Regions from separate parts of the Homo sapiens genome. Here regions 1, 2 and 4 are each linked to region 3. The links are contacts of gene promoters, found by promoter capture Hi-C in blood cells and fetal thymus (Javierre and others, 2016). All regions are on one chromosome and are shown on one strand. Each heading gives the region's core, a stretch centred on a gene start or on the middle of the fragment in contact. The rest is flanking DNA. Distances are from core to core; before and after follow the strand shown. Region 1 overlaps PFKFB1 (6-phosphofructo-2-kinase/fructose-2,6-biphosphatase 1). Region 2 holds the start of MAGED2 (MAGE family member D2). Region 3 holds the start of SMC1A (structural maintenance of chromosomes 1A). Region 4 has its middle 5.1 kb from the start of GNL3L.

Region 1 (5,906 bases), core at 1,747-4,246, 1.6 Mb before region 3:
GAAAATCAGGTGACTATAAGTTGAAGGGTTTACTTCTGGGCTCTCAGTTCTATTCCATTTGTTTATATGTATCTCTACCCTTATACCAGTACCACACATTCTTGATTATTGTAGTTTAATTGTAATTTTGAAATTGGGAAGTATGTCTTCTAATTTTGGTCTTTTTCAGATTGTTTTTATGATTGTTTTGGCTATTCTAGGTCCTTTGCATTTCCATATAAATTTTAAGACCAATTTATTAATTTCTGCAAAGAATTAAGCTGAAACTTTGACAGAAGCTGCATTTAATCTATAGATTAGTTAGGGAATATTACCATCTTAACAATAATAAGTTTTAGGTCCCTGAACATGAGATGTTGTTGCATTTACTTAGGTCTTTAATTATATTCACCAATGTTTTGCAGTTTTCAGAGTGTTTTACATTTTTTAAAGTGTTCTTTTAAGCATTTTATTGTTTTGATGCTATTGTAAATAAAATTGTTTTACTTAATTTCATTTTGTTTGCTCATGGCTACTTTATAGAAATGTAATTGATTTTTATATATTGATCTTATATTCTGCAACATTGCTGGACTCATTTATTAGGTCCAATGGTGTTTTTTAGTGCATTCCTTGGGATTTTCTATATACAAGATTATGTTATCTGCAAATAGAAATAATTTCATCTCTTCCTTTCCAATCCAGATGCCTTTTATTTTCTTTTTCTTACCTAATTACCTTGGCTATAACCTCTACTAGAATGTTGAAAAGATGAGATGAAAACAGACATCCTTCTGTTGTTACTGATCTTGGCAGGCGGCATGGGAGAAACTATTCAATCTTTCACCATTAAGTGTGATATTCACTGTGGGTTTTTCATTGGTGTCTTTTATTAGGTTTAGGGCCTTTCCTTCTAGTTTTAATTTGTTGTTGGTTTTATCATGAAGGGGTATTTAATTTCCCAAATGCTTTATCTGTGCCTATTATGATGATCATTTGGTTTTTTTGTCCTTAATTCTATTGATGTGATCTGTTGCATTAATTGATTTTCAAAGGTTAAATCAAGCTTGCATTCCTATAATAAATCTAACTTGATTGTGATGTAAAAAGTATAAGTATAATATATACATATATATAATGTATACATATAAATCCTTTTATACATTCCTGGGTTCAGTTTGCTAGTGTTTTGTGGGGATTTTTACATCCATATTCACAACAGCTATTGGTCTATAATTTTCTTTTCTTCTAATATATGTGCCTAACTTTGGTAGCACGGAAATACTGGCCTCATAGAATGAGTTGGGAAGTGCTTCTTCCTCTTCTACTTTTTGAAAGAGCTTTTGAAGAATCGTATTATTCTTTAAATGTTTGTAGAATTCACCAGTGAAACCATCTAATCCTGGACTTTTCTTTCTGGCAAGGTTTTTCATTACTTATTCAACCCCTTGTTATAGATCTATTTAGATTTCATTTCTTTTTTAGTCAGTTTTGAGAGTTTGTATCATTCTAATAATTTATCTATTTCACCTAAGGCATTTATTGTGTTGGCATACAGTTTATGATTGTTCATAATATTCCCTTATAATTCTTTTTATTTTCATAAAGTCAGTAGTAATGTCTCCTCTTTTTTTCCTGAATTTATTAATTTGAGTTTTCTCTTTTTTTTCTTGGTCAGTCTCACTAAAGGTTTGTCAAGTTTATTAATTTTTTCAAATAACCAACTTTTGATTTTGTTGATTTTTTTCTAATGTTTTCCTAGTCTCTGTTTTATTATTTTCACCTCTAATCCTTATTATATCCTTCTTCTGTTTCCTTTAGGTTCCCATATTTGTGAATTTCCCAAAGTTCTCTCTGTTATTAATTTTTTATTTTACTCCATTATGATTGGAGAACATACTTTATATGATTTCCATTCTTCCAAATTTATTGAAGCTTCTTTTATGGCCTAGAATATTGTCTCTCTTGGAGCATGTTTGATGTACACTTTGGAAAAATGTATAGTCTGCTGTTTGGAGATGGAGTGTTTTACAGATGTTTGTTATTACTACTTTGTGTTGAAGTCCTCTATTTCCCTGTTGTTGATCTTCTATGTAGTTGTTCTATCCATTATTGAAAGAGTGGTCTTGAAGTTTCCAACTATTGTCAGTGGATTGTCTATTTCTCCCTTCAATTCTGCCAGTTTTGCTTCATGTATTTGGCAGCTCTGTTGTTTAGGCATATACGTTTATACTTGTGATATATTCATTATGGATTGACCCTTTTGTCATTATTGAATGTCCCTATATATCTCTAGTAATGTTTTTGAACATCCATTTTGTCTCATATTAGTATGGTCACTCCAAATTTCTTGTGGTTGTTGTTTGCATGATGTATTACTTACGTTATTTTACTTTTAATCTATTTGCTTCTTTCTCTTTTTTCTTCTTTCTTTTTTAGAATAGAGATGGAGTCTCACTATGTTGCCCAGGCTGGTCTCAAACTTCTGGACTCAAGGGATCCTCCCACCTTGGTTTCCCAAAGTGCTCGGATTATAGGCGTGAGCCACCAGGCCTGCCTTGTATCTTTCAGTCTAAAACCTATCTTCTGTAGGCAGCATGCAGTTGGATCTTGTTTGTTTGTATTCAGTTAGATATTCTCTACCTTTTGATTGGGTTGATTAATCTGTTCTGATTTAAAATCATTATTGATATAGTTGGTTTAAATATGCAGTTTTATTTTTCCATAGAGCTCATGTCTTTTTCTCTCTATTCTTCCTTTACTGCTTTCTTTTGCATTAAATGAATTATTCTAGTTTAACTTTTTAATTCATTTGATCATTTTTTATTATATATTTTTTAGGTATATTCTTCGTGGTTGTTCTAGGGCTTTTCACATACATCATACATCAGTGTGCTTCAGATTTGTACTAATTTAATTTCAATGAGATATAAAAATTTTACTCATATATAGCTCTCTTTCACCTTCCTTTTTGAGCTATTATAATATATATATTATATCTGTATATGCTAAAAACTAAATAATACATCATTATAAGTATTATTTTATATAATTTTATGTTTTAAGGAAGCTGAGAAAATTAAGGAGAACATGTATGTATTTATTATTTTCTATTATTTTCATTTGTTCCTGTGGGTTTGAATTACCTTCTGGTATCATTTCCTTATTTCTATATAACTCTTTGCTTTGTGACTTGGCTAGGCTATTTTTAAAGTATGTTTCCCTGCAGTGTGAACCCTTCAGTGTTGCTTCTTGGAGTGCATAGTTTTTGGCTTGCAGGTAATTTGGGCTTTCTTTGACTTTTTCCCAGTCTCTCTATTAAGCTGTCAGCCCACATGGGGGTATTACACTCTAGGCTCCACTAATTACTAGCTGAATGCTGTATTTTGTTTTTGTTTTTTGTTTGTTTGTTTGTTTGGCAGTGTCCTGAAGCATGCATTGCCCAGCAGCCTTATCTAATTAAACTCTAGCAGGAGTAGTTTGTGAAGTAAGTCTTGGAGGTTTCTTCATACCCCAGAAGGGCTCTTCTTACCTGTCCCTCTCTCTCTTGTTCTCTCTGATGAACAAGCTGGCCTATGTTGCTGTTAGTTAAGTGAACTTGTAGTTTTTGAGAACATCCTTGGGCTTGAGCTTCTTTGTACTATGTTAAAAATAAAGTTAGTTTTGGGGGGAGAGTTTCAGAGCTCTCTCATCTTATGAATTTCTTCTCTCCATGGGTATACTGTCTGAGCACTGTTCTGGGTGCTGGGCGAGACAGCAGCTTCTGGTCTTAGTTTGCCTATCCTGGTGTGGAACCTACCCTGTGAGCAAGATGGAATGAGGGTAATCAGGACCTCAGTATTCTTAGCCTATTGCACCTGGTATATAGCCTCCATTCTATGAGTAAAAACTGGGAGGAGGAAGGGATCCTCCAACCTCTTAACCACACTTGCCAGGAATTTAGCCTCTGCAATTCTGAGCTGAAGGGAATGCTAAATGCTAGCTCTCTGCTCCTTCCAGTAAGATGCCAAAGTATTGATGGGACATTCTCTCCAAGACGAAAGGGAGCTTCATCTTGGCTATACACACCTTAAGTGGAGCTTCTATCAAGCTAAGCTTGGAGCCAGTAGTGAGGGGACAGTAGTAAGGTCGGGAACAGTAGCATGGCACATGTATCAAAGACTGTGTTCTTACCACATTTCAGTAGATTTTCTTGAATAAAAATATCTTCATGTACTGTATTCCATTAAGACAATTTCCAGAGATTTTAAAAGGTTGTTGTGTTGTAATTTTGCCAGCTGAGCTTGTTTTATTAGAGAATGGGTCTTTAGAGCTCCTCATGCTGTCATGCCAGAAATGAAAGTCTCAAGATTGTCTTTGTGTGTTGATCTTGTATCTTGCAGCCTTGATGAACTCACTTGTTAGTTCGAGGAATTTCTGTAGTTTAGGGGGATATTTCTATGTAGACAATCATGACATTTGCAAATAGGGATTTTTTAAAAATTATTTTCCAAACCGTATGCCTTTTATTTCCTTTTATTGCCTTATTGCAGTGGTTAGAACTTCTAGTACTATGTCAAAAGAGTGGAGAAGGTGGAAATCCTTACATTAGTCCTGATGTTAGGGGGAAAGCATTTAGTCTTTCACTTTTAAGTATAATGTTGGTGATAGTTTTTGTTTGCTTTATAGAAGTTTCTTATCAAGTTGAACTTAAACAAATTTACAAGAAAAAAACAACCCTATTAAAAAGTGGGCAAAGGACATGAACAGACACTTTTCAAAAGAAGACACACATACAGCCAACAAGCATATGAAAAAATGCTCAACATCACTGATCATTAGGGAAATGCAAATCAAAGCCACAGTGAGATACCATCTCACACCAGTCAGAATGGCTATCATAAAAAAGTCAAAAAATAACAGATACTGGTGAGATTGCAGAAGAAAGTGAATGTTTATACACTGCTGGTGGGAATGTAAATTAGCTCAACCATGTGGAAAGCAGTGTAGTGATTCATCAAAGAGCTAAAAACAGAACTACCATTCAACCCAGCAATCCCATTACTGGGTATATACCCAAGGGGATATAAATCGTTCTATTATAAAGACACATGCAGACATATGTTCATTGCAGCACTATTCACAATACCAAAGACATGGAATCAACCTAAATGTCCATCAGTGATAGACTGGATAAAGAAAATGTAGTATGTGTATGCCGTGGAATACTATGCAGCCATAAAAAAGAATGACATCATGTCCTTTGCAGGGACATGGATGCTGGAGGCCATTATACTTAGCAACCTAAAAGGAACAGAAAACCAAATACTGCATGTTCTCCCTTGTAAGTGGGAGCTAAATGATGAGAACACATGGACATAGAGGGGAACAACACACATTTGAGACCTACCTGAGGGTGGAGGGTGGGAGAAGGGAAAAGATCAGGAAGAATAACTAATGGGTGCTAGTTAATAGGTAATAGGTACACCTGGGTGACAAAATAATCTGTACAACAAACTCTTGTGACATTAATTTATCTCACTAAGAAACTTGCACATGTACCTCTGAACTTAAAATAAAAAATAAAAATATAAAATCTTAAGCTTAACCATTCAGAAACCACCAACTAACCTCTAACTATGGACTTTCTACTTTAAGCAATCAAATATTTATTTCGTCTTTCTTCTGAGAACACCTTATAAAAGTTTTCTCTTGATCCCCCTCAGTGGAGCCCTGAACTGCTTGTGTATTGTGCTTCCCAATTCACAAATTGCTGAATGCTCAAACTCATTAAAATTATTTAAAGAAAGGAGTGCCTATCAAGTTTAGGTAATTCATCTCTATTCCTAACTTGCTGAAAGTTTTTATCATTAATAGGTTTTATGAAGTGCTTTGTCAGTATGTATTTATTTTTCTTCTTTAGTTTGTTGATAGGGTGGATTACATTA
Region 2 (3,424 bases), core at 1-2,500, 1.4 Mb before region 3:
CTGAACCCTGGATTTGTTTCTCACTGACTTCCAAGCAGGTGTTTCATCTGCCTAGCAGGCCAGGAGCAAACCAAGGGTGGGTGGAGGCTGAGTCTTCTTCTCTTTCTGTGCCCACTACTGGCTCTGCTTGAACCATCCTAGACAAGCCGCTTCACCTCTCTGGAACTCAGCTTCCTTCTCCATAAAATTGGGGCTATGAGAATTACTTTCAAGATTTAATGAGATAACCTGCATAAATGTGCTTAGCTCAAGGCCTAATACAGGGCAGCTACTATGTAAACATAAACTGCATTACATTCAGATTGCACCTCCCCATCAGTCTGCAAGCTCTCTGAAGACAGGAATTACATCACATTACTCTCAGTGCCCCCCACAGCCCTGATGAGCACAGGGATCTTTCTAAATGTTTGTAGAACAAATGAATCAACTGAGAGAGGAGTAGAAAACCAAGGGTGGTGACTGCAGAGGTCTTACCTTTCGGGCTTTCTTGGCTTTGACCTTGGGCCGAGTATCCTGATTCTCCTGAGACTGGGCAGCTGCACTCTCAGGCTCAGGTTCATCTGCTGGGGCCTGAGAGGGTGCAGCCTCAGTCTCCTGAGCCTTTGTATTGACCTTTGTATCAGCCACATGGCTGACCTTTTTGGTCTCAGTGGCAGGCATTGTCACAGCCTGCGGGTCAGCATTCTGTTTCTTGGTGTCAGCTGCTAGACTCTTGTTTTCAGCTGCCAGAACCTGGGTATCAGTCAGCTGAGTAGTAGATGAGGCCTGGGTGGCAGGTGCCTCCCGAGCCTCTGGGGTCTTTGAGACCTCTGTGGCCTTTGAGACCCCAGAGGCTTTTGAGACCTTCACATCCTCTGAGACCTCCAGTGCCTTTGAGGCCTTCGGTGTCTCTGGGACCTCCACATTCTGGGTCACTGTCAACAGAGTCTGCATCATCGAGCTACTGTCCTTTTCTGAAGCTTCAGCCTGCAAGAGGAAGCAGGGAAGTTCATAGACCTTCTCCTCACCCCCAACTAAGCAAATGGCTCCAAAATTCCAAGGCCACACTTCTCTGACCTGTACTGACTCCTACCTGCGGTGTGCTCTGACCACCTCAGCCCAACAAGGCCTCCCTTTCCTCTGAGCAAGAACTGATGGCAGAAGAGGGGCCCGCCCACCTTCTCTCCCTCCCTCCACTGGGCAGGGGGACACCCAGGCAGGAAAGTAGGTGGAGAAGGACAAGGATGGGAGGGGAAGAGCCAAGGGACTTGGGGGCAGCAACAAGGGCTGGAGAGGAAAAGCAGCTGGGGAAAGGACAGAAAGAGGCCTTACCTGGAAGCGAGTTAGACCTGCACCACTCTCGCTTGTGTCAGACATGTCTCAATTTGGCCTGGCAAGAGCTGAGCCTGAAGGGGAGAAGGCCTGGGTCAAGTTGAAGCCCACTGAACGTCCTCTCCCCTGTTGTGCCTGGAGGCTGATCCTCACCTTCCGTAGGTCCCCAATTCCAACCCCCTCCACCACCCCCAACGACTCCGTTCTCAGATACAGGAATTCAAAGCTTCTAAGTCTCAATTCTCTGCAGCCGCACCCTCCCCTTCTCCAGGAAGATGTGCCAGCGCGGCAGCTCTGAGGACCCCGCCCCTTTTCCCAGTGCACCCCCCACCCAGCCGCAGGTCGATAGAGCGCATGCGCGTCGGCTGCAGGGCCGCTCTCAGCCCCGCCCGCTTTCCCAGCACGAGCCCTTTCTTTGATGTCCACCGTGCACATGCGCATTCAGCAGCTGGCTCTTCTCAGTGCTGGCCCTTCTCAACACGCCCCTTTCTAGCGAAACATAGTGCGCATGCGCAATGGTCGTGGTCTCAGTCTGGCACTCTGCCCCAACACACGCCCCTCTCCAGGTCCGCAGTACCATTCGGTCCCGCCCCCTGCCCAACAAGCCTTCCTCCAAAATTGTCGCAGTGTCTGGTGGACCCGGCCCCTCCCCTACTCACGCCCTACAGAGTCCAGTGTCTCTTGGCCCCGCCCTTCTTCCTAACACGCCCCCCTCCAAACAGGCGCATCTTGGTTCCGCCCCTTCCCTATTACACCCCCTCCTCAAATAAATACTGAGCTAGTGATTCCATCTTGGGCCCGGCCAAACCGGGTCCAGTCCCCTCCCTTCCCAGCCGGATGGATCCGGTACGATCCGGTCCTTAAGGCAGGTTTTCTCCAGATCCCAGAGGGTGGGGCCGACCCCTAGCGGGGCTCTCATCCAAAAGCCGACCCGGCTGCTCACCTCGTCCTCCTACAATTCCCGAGTGCGTCCACTCACTCCAAGCCCCTCCGAAACTCGGAGACTGCCCTCCCCTCTCTAGGCCGGAAGTGGTCCCGCCCCTTTCCGCCTCCCTAGGGGGCCTCCGTCCCAGCCTGTCTGCCCCTCCCCCGCTCCCTGCTCCTCATTCCTTATGCCCCCCTCCGTATTCCCTTAGCCTGGCTCCCTACTCCCTATTCCTACCTCACATTTCCTATTTACTCCAGAATTCCTTCTTCCCATTTCTTACATCCTCCTCCGTGTTACGTTTGCACACCCTGCCCCTCAGTATTCCTTAATCCCTCTCTGCATCCCCGATTCTCTTCTCTGGATCTTCACTCCCCCTCAGTGTTCCCCTCCCTCCTTGTATTCCTCGTCCCCCTCCCAACATTCCTGGTTCCCCGTTTTTCTCCCCTCCTCCCTCCGCTAGTCTCTGCTCCCAGTCTGTACAGCCTACTACTTTCTCAGTCGTCCTCATTGCCTACACCCCACTCCAGGTCACCTCTGCTTCAGCTGCAGTGGTGCAGTAAGAATTGCTCATCTGCCTGGCTATGGGTTCGAGGGGTCTGGAACCACTGTCTGACCTCCATAAAACCCCAATATCAACGCCCCTCACCTTGTCCTCCAGCGAGTTCGGGATGCGTCTGCCTTCTCTAAGTCCCTCTCGAAGTCTCAGCCTCCTGGACTAGAGCTGCAGACAGCCCAACCCAGCCCAGCCCCTTTCCGCAGCCCCCTGCCACCCCCCCTCGCCTTCCTCGGGGGTGGGGCAATGGGGCCCCGCTCAGGGCTGTCTGACGCCAAAGCCCATGTTTATGCCACTGTACCAGGCTCAGTCTGAAGCTCTTCCAACTCAAACCGCCCCCTGAAAGCAAGTCATTCATTGAATTTATTTTTATATCTTCATTTTTTCTTATTACAAAGGTAATATGTTGTTCTTTTGTTGTTGTTGTAAAAATTCAAACAATGCAGTAATATATAACACACCAATGAAAGGCCACTCATCTCCCAGAAATAACCACTATTAACATTTTGCTATCCAGATTTTTTTTCTATTCGTATACTAATTATTCAGGTTCTCTCTCCGACAAATGGTACACTATACATACCTTCTGTTCTGCGACCTGTTTTTTTCCAGTTATATATAAAACATCTTTC
Region 3 (5,267 bases), core at 1,106-3,605:
TGTTAGCCAGGATAGTCTCAATCTCCTGACCTTATGATCCACCCTCCTTGGCCTCCCAAAGTGCTGGGATTACAGGCATGAGCCACCACACCTGGCCCCATTTAATTTTTTTTAATATAGATGGGGTCTCACTATATTGCCCAAGCTAGTCTTGAACTCAAGCAATTCTCCTGCCTCGGCCTCCCAAAGTGCTGGTATTACAGGCATGAGCCATTGTGCCCGGCGTCACTTAGGTTTTTAATCCACTTGGAGTTGCATTTTGTGTATGGTGTGAGATAAGGATCCAATTTAATTTTCCCCCCAAGTGCCATCTCATCTTTTTTAAATTTAAAATTTTATTTTATTTTTGGCCGGGCGCGGTGGCTCACGCCTGTAATCCCAGCACTTTGGGAGGCCGAGGCAGGTGGATCAGGAGGTCAGGAGTTCAAGACCAGCCTGGCCAACATAGTGAAACCCTGTCTTTACTAAAAATACAAAAAAATTAGCCAGGCGTGGCAGTGGGCACCTGTAATCCTAGCTACTTGGAAGGCTGAGGCAGAGAATAAAATTTATTTTATTTTTAATTTGTTTTAGATGGGGTCTCTCTCTGTTGCCCAGGATGGAGTGTAGTGGTGCAATCATGGCTCACTGCAGCCTCAAACTCCTGGGCTCAAAGGATCTTCCTGCCCCAGCCTCCTGAGTAGCTGGGACTACAGGTGTGTGCCACCATGCCTGCCTAATTTTTAAAATTTTTTTGTAGAGATTGGGTTTTGCTATGTTACCCAGGCTCACCATCTCATCTTTTAAAAGGGAACAGTATTTCCCCATGGATTACATGAGATTGCTGTCTTTTAGCCATTTTATCCCCTCAGCCTGATTGTTTCTCCCAGCTGAACTTCATTTATGGCTCCCCTACTAGATTCCATCTACCAAGCTTCCTCCCTTTATTTATTTTTGAGACAGGGTATTGCTCTGTCACCTAGGCTGGAGTGAAGTGGTGCGGACACCACTCACTACAGCCTCAACCTCCCAGGCTCAAGTGATCCTCCTGCTTCGGCATCCTGGGTAGACCAGAGGTGAGAGCTGCCACACCCAGCTAATTTTTTAATTTTTAGTAGAGATAGGGTCTCACTATGTTGCCCAGGCTGGTCTTGAACTGCTGGTCTCAAGTGATCCTCCTGCCTTGGCCTGCCTCCCTCACGATGGGATTACAGTTGTCAGCCACCATGCCCAGCCACTTCCTCACTTTCCTGGACTTGTCCTAAGTCTTTAGGACTCTTTCTAGCCTTCGGACATAATTTAATAAATAGTTAAAGGAATAATTATGGCAACCACCAGATCCTTTCCATGTTTAAGTCTGAGAATGGCACCAACTTACCTACTGGTTTCACCTGCCATTACAGTATAAGGTCACTGAAGGGGAAGATTCAGCTGACATTTTAAGCTTCTTGGATTGCTAAGGCCCCTGCCTTATTAATGATAGAGAGCAGAGAGGGAAGAGAGGTAAGGTGGCATTGTGGTATAGAGCTGTGGGAATGGGATGGGGGAGAGGCATGGAGGCAGAGGTAGGTGGAGGTGGAGAGCGCTGGCTTAGGGACCCTGACTCCTGGGGGTTCACACAAAATACCTTTCTCAGTAAGGAATCCCGATTTTGAAGCTCTTAGGTTGGCTCTGCATGCAACTTTGTTCTTGGGTTACGGCGGCAGTTTCTGAACTCTGCTTGGTACAACAGGAGGGAGGCAGGGGATAGGGGTAGTATCTCAGGCCGTAGCCTTCCCCAGCCTGTATCCCTGTTGCCTGGGAGTAGCCCCAGTCCCATTCACAACCCGTCCGCCTTCGCAACCCGTCCCGCCACCAATCCCACCCCACCATTAGCAAAGTCTGAGCTCACCTAACACTGAATCCTCCCGTTGGCCCCTCCTTCCCGTCCAGCTCTCCGCTCCCCCCGGGTCCTTCCAATTCCCGACCCTGTCCTTGTCCTAGCCTTGAAAGCTGGCCAGGCTAAAGCCACAGCCGAGCTCCCACCTTCCTCTTGCCCTGAGGGGCATAATCCTGCTGTGACTTCTGTCTCAGCAAGCGTGAGCTCAGGTCTCCCCCGCCTCCTTGAACCTCAAGAACTGCTCTGACTCCGCCCAGCAACAACTCCTCCGGGGATCTGGTCCGCAGGAGCAAGTGTTTGTTGTTGCCATGCAACAAGAAAGGGGGGCGGAGGCACCACGCCAGTCGTCAGCTCGCTCCTCGTATACGCAACATCAGTCCCCGCCCCTGGTCCCACTCCTGCCGGAAGGCGAAAATCCCGTTAGGCCTGGACGTATTCTCGCGACATTTGCCGGTCGCCCGGCTTGCACTGCGGCGTTTCCCGCGCGGGCTACCTCAGTTCTCGGGCGTACGGCGCGGCCTGTCCTACTGCCGCCGGCGCCGCGGCCGTCATGGGGTTCCTGAAACTGATTGAGATTGAGAACTTTAAGTCGTACAAGGGTCGACAGATTATCGGACCATTTCAGAGGTTCACCGCCATCATTGGACCCAATGGCTCTGGTGAGATAAACCTGGCCGCGGCCCTGCGCACGTCCCGGCCTGGACCCCTTATCCGGTGCCGGAGTAGTACAACCCAGCCCATGTAACCTGAAACGTCGCGGACCCTTACGGGTTCCTTGCCCGTCCAGAGGGGGTTCTGCTCGAACCCACTCTCCCCGCGCGGGTGCTCTAACTCGAACCCCTTCCAGGTGTCACTTGCCGCTTCCTGCGCGGCCCCCGCCCCGGCCCAGTGGTACAGGCCGAGCTGCCAGTTACCCCGCCTACTTCCCCCTCCCGCCAAAGGAGTCGCGTCTGGAACCAGCTTCCCGCCAGCTCAGTCCTCCGCCGCGCGGCTCCCCGCCGGACCGGCCGGAGCCGGCTTCCCAGCCTTACTTGACCCCCTCCGGAGAATGTGGGGACGCTGGTAGCTCTCCCGTGGCCTTCGGTCCCAAACGGTGCACTTCTGTTTCAGCCCAGCGTCCTCTCTCGCCTCGCATTGGTACACTCCAACTCCTTTCTACTCTTCTCTGGAGGCGGCACTTTTGAATTTCAGACCCAGCGCTCCAGTCTTTAGAATGCTTGAGGTGTCGATCCCCACCCCCCACCGCTATGTCAGAGGTAGTTGCCTCGAACTCGCCCTTTTCCTACCACCGAAACCGTCAAAAGCCGAAATTAACTAATTTACCAAATTTGTTGAATGCTTATTGTTTATCAGGAGTTATTCAGTTGCAAGTTGTGGAAACAGCGGAGAATAGAATAAACCAACTCCATGCTCACAGGGAACTTATATTCCAGAGGGGAAAGAAGATAAGGAGAAAATAAGATGGTTTTAGGCTGTCATAAGTGCTATACAGGAAATGAGACAGGTGGATGTGATAAAGTGACTTAGGTGGTGTCTTTAGAAAGGGTGGTCAGGTAAAGCCTCTATTTTGTGTCTTCCCAACTCTAAACGATACACCGTGGATTCCTCTCACCTCAGATGTCCATTTGGAATCCTGCTGTATTCTTCCACCCCAGAGATGTTCTAGCTGAATGATATCCTAGCCTAAGAGGCTGCCCTTGCTGAAGTAGCACATACTGAGTACCTTTCCTGGAGACTGAGTGTCTCAACAGTGGCACTATTGACATTTCCAGCGAGATAATCCTTTGCTGTGGGATGTGCTCTGTGCATTGTAGGATGTTTAACAGCATCTCTGGCATCTACCTGCTAGATAACAGTAGCACCCCTGCTCCCCAGGCATGACAATCAAAACTGTCTCTAGACATTGCTAGATGTCACAGAGGGTGTGTGTGATTCCCCCAACCCCCCAACTTGTTTGAGAACCACTGGCCTGGAGGGCTAATGCTTGGTGTCCACCCAGTTTCCTCGGGTTTTAGTGTAGTGGCCCCTGTTGGAAGAGCTAGGATGTACCTCTTGGCATTCAGTCCCCTCAGCATTAGTAGATTTGTATTCCCAGCTGTTCTGAAAAGGGCTATGGCACTCCCCCACTTGCCCCCGTTCTTCAAGGCCCACCTCTACAAGCCATTCCTTTAGTCCCTTTGGTGAGTGAGTCTTCCTCTGTGGCATACCGTAGACACTTGGTACACGTTAATGTTTATTAAGTCCTATATTGATGGTGCATGTTTTTGTATCTTCATTGGCCTGTGAGTACCCTAAAGCAGACATTCCTTGAAACGTTTTACTGGTGTTCAGTCCATAATATATATTACAAAAATGTTTACCATATTGATTGTGATTAGAGAGGCTTGGGGTTGTGAGATGATGTTGTCCTCCCTGGAAATGATGGGAGAAGCCCAAAGGTTGGATATTGGTTCCTAAAAGGCTGACTCCTGGTCTGCATGATGTGCTAGTCCTGCTGTGATGAGGGAGACAGCTGAGTCCAGACTTAGGATAGGACTAATTAATTGAGTACCTACTCTGTGTGTCAAGTACTTTATTTATTGGGACCCTGTTTTTTCTTTTTCTTTTTCTTTTCTTTTTTTTTTTTTTTGAGACAGTCTTGCTCTGTTGTCCAGGCTGGAGTGCAGTGGCATGATGTTGGCTCACTGCAACCTCTGCCTCTTGGGTTCAAGTGATTCTCGTGCCTCAGCCTCCCAAGTAGCTGGGACTACAGGCGTGCGCCACCCCATCTGGCTAGTTCTTGTATTTTTAGTAGAGTTGGTGTTTCTCCCAGTTGGCCAGGCTGGTCTCAAACTCCTGGGCTCAAGTGATCTGCCTGCCTCAGCCTCCCAAAGTGCTGGGATTACAGGCATGAGCCACTGCACCCAGCCAAGGGACCCTTTACAATTAAATTCTCAAAATGACCCTAGGAGGAAAATGCCAATAGCTTCGTTTTATACATGAGGAGACTAAGGCACAGAGGTGTGATAACTTGTCCGTGGTTCTCAGAACCCATGCCTGTGCTCCTGCCACTCCAATAGAGAAGTATGTGCCGCACATATTTTTAGACCCGTGAATTGTGGTTTTTTTCATCTTTTTCCAGGTGAGGGAATGGAAGGTCAGCTAAGTGGTAGTGAAAGTAAGATTAGAACCTGGTCTGTTGGTTCTAAGCCCAAGTTTGCAAGCTTTTTTAGATGGAGTCTCACTCTGACGCCCACACTGGAGTGCAGTGGCATGACCTCGGCTCACTGCAACTTCTGCCTGCTGGGTTCAAGTGATTCTTTTCTTTTTTTTCTTTTTTTTTTTTTTGAGATGAAGTCTTTCTCTGTCGCCCAGGCTGGAGTGCAGTGGCGTGATCTCAGCTCACTGCAACCTCTGCCTCCCGGGTTCA
Region 4 (5,163 bases), core at 1,924-4,423, 1.1 Mb before region 3:
TAATATTTTACTTTCTAAGCTAGGTGGTAGGTACGTGGGTTTTTGTTATCTTCTCTATACTTATTTGTATGTCCGAAATATTTCATATTTTTTAAAAGACTACAAGGATCTGAAACAAAATGTTAATAATAGTTAAATCTAGATTAGTGGTTCTCTAACTTTCCCCAGCATCAGAATCACTGGGAGGGCTTGTTAGAACACCAATTACTGGGCCTCATGCCCAGAGTTTTGATTCAGTAAGTCTGGTTTAGGGCCCAGGATTTGCATTTCTAACAAATCAAAGTGACATTATCAGTGAATTTAATTTTCTTCCTTGTACTTTTCTGTGTTTTCCATGTATTTGATGAATATTTATTACTTTAGTGAGAGATTGTGTTATTTTTTAAAATCTCTTTCATCTCTACTTCCCACTTTCATTTCCCTCCTATAGGCAGCCATTCAAAGGTGTTTTATGCATATTTTTGCATATATGCATTCTTGGAAAATACGTATTATTGCTTTATGTGTATTTCCTCCTTTTTTTTTTTTTTTTTTTTTGAGCCAGGGTCTTGCTCTATCGCCCAGACTGGAGTGCAGTGGCATGACCTCCACTCACTGCAACCTCCACCTCCTGGGCTCAAGGGATCCTCCCACCTCACCCTCCCGAGTAGCTGGGGAACTACAGGCGCACATCACCATGCCCAGCTAATTTTTAAAGATGTTTTTACTGGTCTCGGCTGGGCACTGTGGCTCACACCTGTAATCCCAGCACTTTGGGAGGCCAAGGCAGGCGGATCACCTGAGGTCAGGAGTTCGAGACCAGCCTGGCCAACATGGTGAAACCCTGTCTCTACCAAAAAGAAAAATACAAAAAATTAGCTGGGTGTGGTGGCAGGCGCCTTAATCCCAGCTACTTGGGAGGCAGAGGCAGGAGAATCGTTTGAACCCGGGAGGCGGAGGTTGCAGTGAGCCAAGATCAAGCCATTGCACTCAAACCTGGGGGACAAGCACGAGACTTCTCTCAAAAAAAAAAAAAAAAGATTTTTTTACTGGTCTCAAACTCGGGGCTCCAGCAATCTGCTTGCCTCGGCCTCCTAAAGTGATGGGATTGTGGGTGACTGCACCCGGCCAAATTTTTATTTTATATTGTTTCCAAATTCAGAACAGTCGAAAGAATGGTATAATGAAAGCCCATATACCCTTATACTTCACCAAATATCATCCTACATAACCACAATACCATTATCAAACCTAAGAAGATTTAACTATAATTCAATAATGCCATCACGTATAGCCCATATTCACATTTCCGCCCAATTATCCCCAAAAATGCAGCTTTCGTTTTTTGATCCCAGGATCTAATCAAGGTTTATGTACTACGTTTCTTTTTTTTTTTTTTTTTTTTTTTTTTTTTGAGACGAAGTCTTGCTCTGTTGCCCAGGCTCGAGTGCAGTGGCGCAATCTTGGCTCACTGCAACCTCTACCTCCTGGGTTCAAGTAATTCTCCTGCCTCCACCTCCCAAGTAGCTGGGACTACAGGCGCCCGCCACCATGCCTGTCTAATTTTTGTATTTTAAGTAGAGACAGCGTTTCTGCACATTGGAGTGATCCATCCACCTTGGCCTCCCAAAGTGCAGGGATTACAGTCATGAGCCACCACACCTGACGTTTGTGTATTACATTTGGTTGTTATATCCCTTTAACCTCTTTTAATCTAGAATAATACCCCTATATTTTTTGTTTCAAATGACATTTATGTTTTTGAAGAGTCCAGGCCAATTGTCTTGTAATATGTCCCATATTCTGGATTCATTTGTTCTTTTCACATGAATAGATTCAGAATAAATATTTTTAGCAAGAACAGTACATAGGGGATATCCTTTATTTTGTATTGTGTCACCTCAAGAGGCACATGATATCAGATTGTCTCACTATTGAGCATACTTTGTACTTGTTTTTCTTTTACATAAATATCTCATTCTGGCCAGGTGCGGTGGCTCATGCCTGTAATCCCAGCACTTTGGGAGGCCGAAGCAGGCGGATTGCTTGAGGCCAGGAGTTCAAGACCAGCCTGGCCAACATGGCGAAACCCTGTCTCTACTAAAAATGCAAAAATTAGCCAGGTGTGGTGGCGCACACCTCTAATCCCAGCTACTGGGGAGGCTGAGGCACGAGAATCGCTTGAACCTGGGAGGCAGAGGTTGCAGTGAGCTGAGATCACACCACTGCACTCCAGCCTGGGTGATGGAGTAAGACTCTGTCTTAAAAAAAAAAAAAAAAAAAAGTCATTCTGTTTTCCATTCAGCCTAGTGTTTTTAAGGTCTATCCATATTGCTGTGTGTACATCTAATCTATTGCTTCTTTTTTTTTTTTTTTTTTTTTTTTTGAGATGGTGTCTCACTCTGTTGCCCAGGCTGGAGTGCAGTAGCGCTATCTGGGCTTACTGCAAACTCTGCCCCCTGGGTTCCTGCCTCAGCCTCCCGAGTAGCTGGAATTACAGGCGCCCACCACCATGCCCGTGTATTTTTAGTAGAGACGGGGTTTTGCCATATTGGCCAGGCTGGTCTCGAATTCCTGGCCTCAGGTGATCCACCCACCTTGGCATCCCAAAGTGCTGGGATTACAGGCGTGAGCCACTGCGCCCAACCTGACCTCATCCATTGCTTCTATCTGCTCATGGTAACCATACTGTGCCTTCACTGCATAGATTGCCTCCAGCTCTCCAATAATACTTCAGTGAACATCCTTGTACATATTCCCTTATTGACCTGTGTGAGGATTTCTTTTGGAACATACACTCAAGAGCCACATGATTACATTCTAAAGTATGCATATACTTAGTTTGACTTAAAAACACCAATACTTCTAGATGGTTCTCTGGGATGGCAGTACCAGTTCACACTTTCACCATGTGTGAGGATTTCTGTATCCCCACATCTTCACTAACACTTGACATTCTCTAGCTTGCTATTTTTTGTTTTTAAGACAGAGTCTCTGTTGTGCTCTCCTCGGCAGCACATATATTAAGACAGAGTCTTAATGCAGTAGTGCGATCTTGGCTCACTGCTACTTCCACCTCCCGGGTTCAAGCAATTCTGCTGCCTCAGCCTCCCTAGTAGCTGGGATTACAGGCGCCCGCCACCATGCCCTGCTAATTTTTGTATTTTATTAGAGATGGGGTTTCACCTGACCTCAAGCAATCCACCCACCTCAGACTCCCAAAGTGCTGGGATTACTGGCGTGAGTCAGCACGCCCGACCAAGATGGCTAATTTTTGCCAGTCTAATAGGTGGAATAGGTTTCAATCCATCTAGATTCCACCCTCATATGTGGTAATACGTGGGAATGTAGCTTTATTATTCTCCACATGGTAAGCCAGGTTTCCCACCATCAAATACTGAACAATTCCTCCTTTTCCCATTGATTTGCCATGCCACCATTATCATATGTTATTAGGCATACACACATAAACACACATACATCTTTTTCTGTCCTTGGGCTAATACCACCTTGGTTTTAGTATTTTGTAATGTGTCTAAATATCACATGGAGCATTTCCTCCTCTTTAGTGTTCTTTTTAGGTGTCTTAGATCTATTGCCACATAAATTTTAAAATGAGTCTATCAAGGTCTTCAAAAATCCAACTGGGATTTTGATTGGGATCACACTAAATTTATAGATTAATTTGGAGGAACTGCCATCATTGTAATAATTACTCATTCCATCCAACAACGTGGAATATACCCTCATTTCTTCAGTTCATCTTCTTCTGTGTTCTTTATTAAAGTTTTCTCTTAAGAATTGTGTATTTTAAAAAATAAAAATGAGGTCAGGCACAGTGGCTCACACCTGTAATCCCAGGATTTTGGGAGGCCGAGGTGGGCAGATCACGAGGTCAGAAGTTCAAGACCAGCCTGGCCAACATAGTGAAACCCCGTCTCTACTAAAATACAAAAATTAGCTGGGCATGGTGGTGGGCGCCTGTAGTCCCAGCTACTTGGGAGACTGAGGCAGGAGAATCGCTTGAACCCGGGATGCAGCAGTTGCAGTGAGCCGATTGCGCCACTGCACTCTAGCCTGGGTGACAGTGAGACTCTGTCTCAAAAAAAAATAAAAATAAAAATAAAAATGAATTGGTTACCTTGGATGTTGCTAAGGCATCAGCTCATTCTGCTGATAATTAATCAACAAATGGAAAAAATCTGGCATTATTCCTGCCTTCCCACATGAATCATATTGCAGGTTAATCAAATAGATAATTAAGGAAAGAGCTTCTTTATGGAAGACTCAACTTATAAATGCAAGAGAAATGGCAGTGTTACAATTCAATCCCTAATGAGATAATGGATTTAAGAAAAAATATGGCTGCTAAAACCATAGGTGAAAAACATTTGGGGAATTATAACAGAGGAATTAGGCTGATACCATCTGACCCTACTCATCAAACTTATCATCAAAGACAGAAAACAAGATATATGTGCCTTCTTATGTTGTACAATAAGAAGTATACAGCACTATTCATGAAGTATACTTTTAAACAAGAAGGAAAAAAGAAACAATTTAATCGAGCATCTCTATTTAACTTCATTTACAAAAAATTCAGGTAATATAGGAAGAGAAACATGTTAAATGGTACCGGGAGAAACAATACACCAAAGCAAGAACTTGGGAAATTTTACAGGACAAAAGAGCCAGTATATTCAACAAATAAATGGAAGGAAGAAAAGAGAGGGAAAATTACAGATTAAAAAGAAAATAAGGCTGGGCATGGTGGCTCATGCCTGTAATCCCTGCACTTCGGGAGGCCGAGGCGGGTGGATCACTTAAGGTCAGGAGTTCAAGACCAGGCTGGCCAACATGGTGAAACCCCATCTCTACTAAAAACACAAAAATTAGCCGGGCATCATGGCACATGCCTGTAATCCCAGCTACTGGGGAGGCTGAGGCAGGAGAATCACTGGAACCCGGAAGGCAGAGTTTGCAGTGAGCCGAGATCGCACCACTGCACTCCAGCCTGAGGGACAGAACGAGACCTCGTCTCAAAAAAAAAAAAAAAAAAAAAAGATTAAAAAGAAATAAAAAGGAAAGGAAATTTCAGAGATAAAGCAAACAAATGCAATGTGTGGGTCTTGTTAACAACCAGATTCCAATGAAGTATAAAAAGATTTTTTTTTTCGAGATGGG

What was found. Contacts are between HindIII fragments. The CHiCAGO score rates a contact against its expected background, and 5 or more counts as called.
Region 1: a contact is called between a fragment that was not itself captured here and the fragment with the promoter of SMC1A in region 3, in 1 of 17 cell types (non-activated CD4 T cells). The highest score is 5.6, in non-activated CD4 T cells.
Region 2: a contact is called between a fragment that was not itself captured here and the fragment with the promoter of SMC1A in region 3, in 3 of 17 cell types (naive CD4 T cells, non-activated CD4 T cells and monocytes). The highest score is 7.7, in naive CD4 T cells.
Region 4: a contact is called between a fragment that was not itself captured here and the fragment with the promoter of SMC1A in region 3, in 2 of 17 cell types (neutrophils and total B cells). The highest score is 6.3, in neutrophils.

The regions. Positions count from the first base shown.
Region 1 is chrX:54,982,802-54,988,707 of GRCh38, reverse strand. The region is part of intron 1 of PFKFB1 (6-phosphofructo-2-kinase/fructose-2,6-biphosphatase 1); the gene reads left to right. Among named protein-coding and RNA genes, the nearest start is that of PFKFB1, 8.4 kb to the left of the region's middle. The HindIII fragment of the contact is 2,160 bases long and covers 1,917-4,076 here.
Region 2 is chrX:54,807,264-54,810,687 of GRCh38, reverse strand. MAGED2 (MAGE family member D2) reads right to left here and starts at 2,943. Exons shown (of 13, transcript NM_177433.3): 1 at 2,886-2,943; 2 at 1,312-1,385; 3 at 475-966. The coding sequence starts at 1,356. The HindIII fragment of the contact is 578 bases long and covers 962-1,539 here.
Region 3 is chrX:53,419,742-53,425,008 of GRCh38, reverse strand. SMC1A (structural maintenance of chromosomes 1A) reads left to right here and starts at 2,355. Exons shown (of 25, transcript NM_006306.4): 1 at 2,355-2,517. The coding sequence starts at 2,409. RIBC1 (RIB43A domain with coiled-coils 1) reads right to left here and starts at 2,136. Exons shown (of 8, transcript NM_001031745.5): 1 at 2,005-2,136; 2 at 1,607-1,695. RefSeq lists enhancers at 2,048-2,097, 1,252-2,223, 2,388-2,567, 2,758-2,807, 2,928-3,107 and 1 more. The HindIII fragment of the contact is 3,638 bases long and covers 1,426-5,063 here.
Region 4 is chrX:54,522,560-54,527,722 of GRCh38, reverse strand. No RefSeq gene overlaps it. Among named protein-coding and RNA genes, the nearest start is that of GNL3L, 5.1 kb to the left of the region's middle. The HindIII fragment of the contact is 8,786 bases long and covers 1-5,163 here.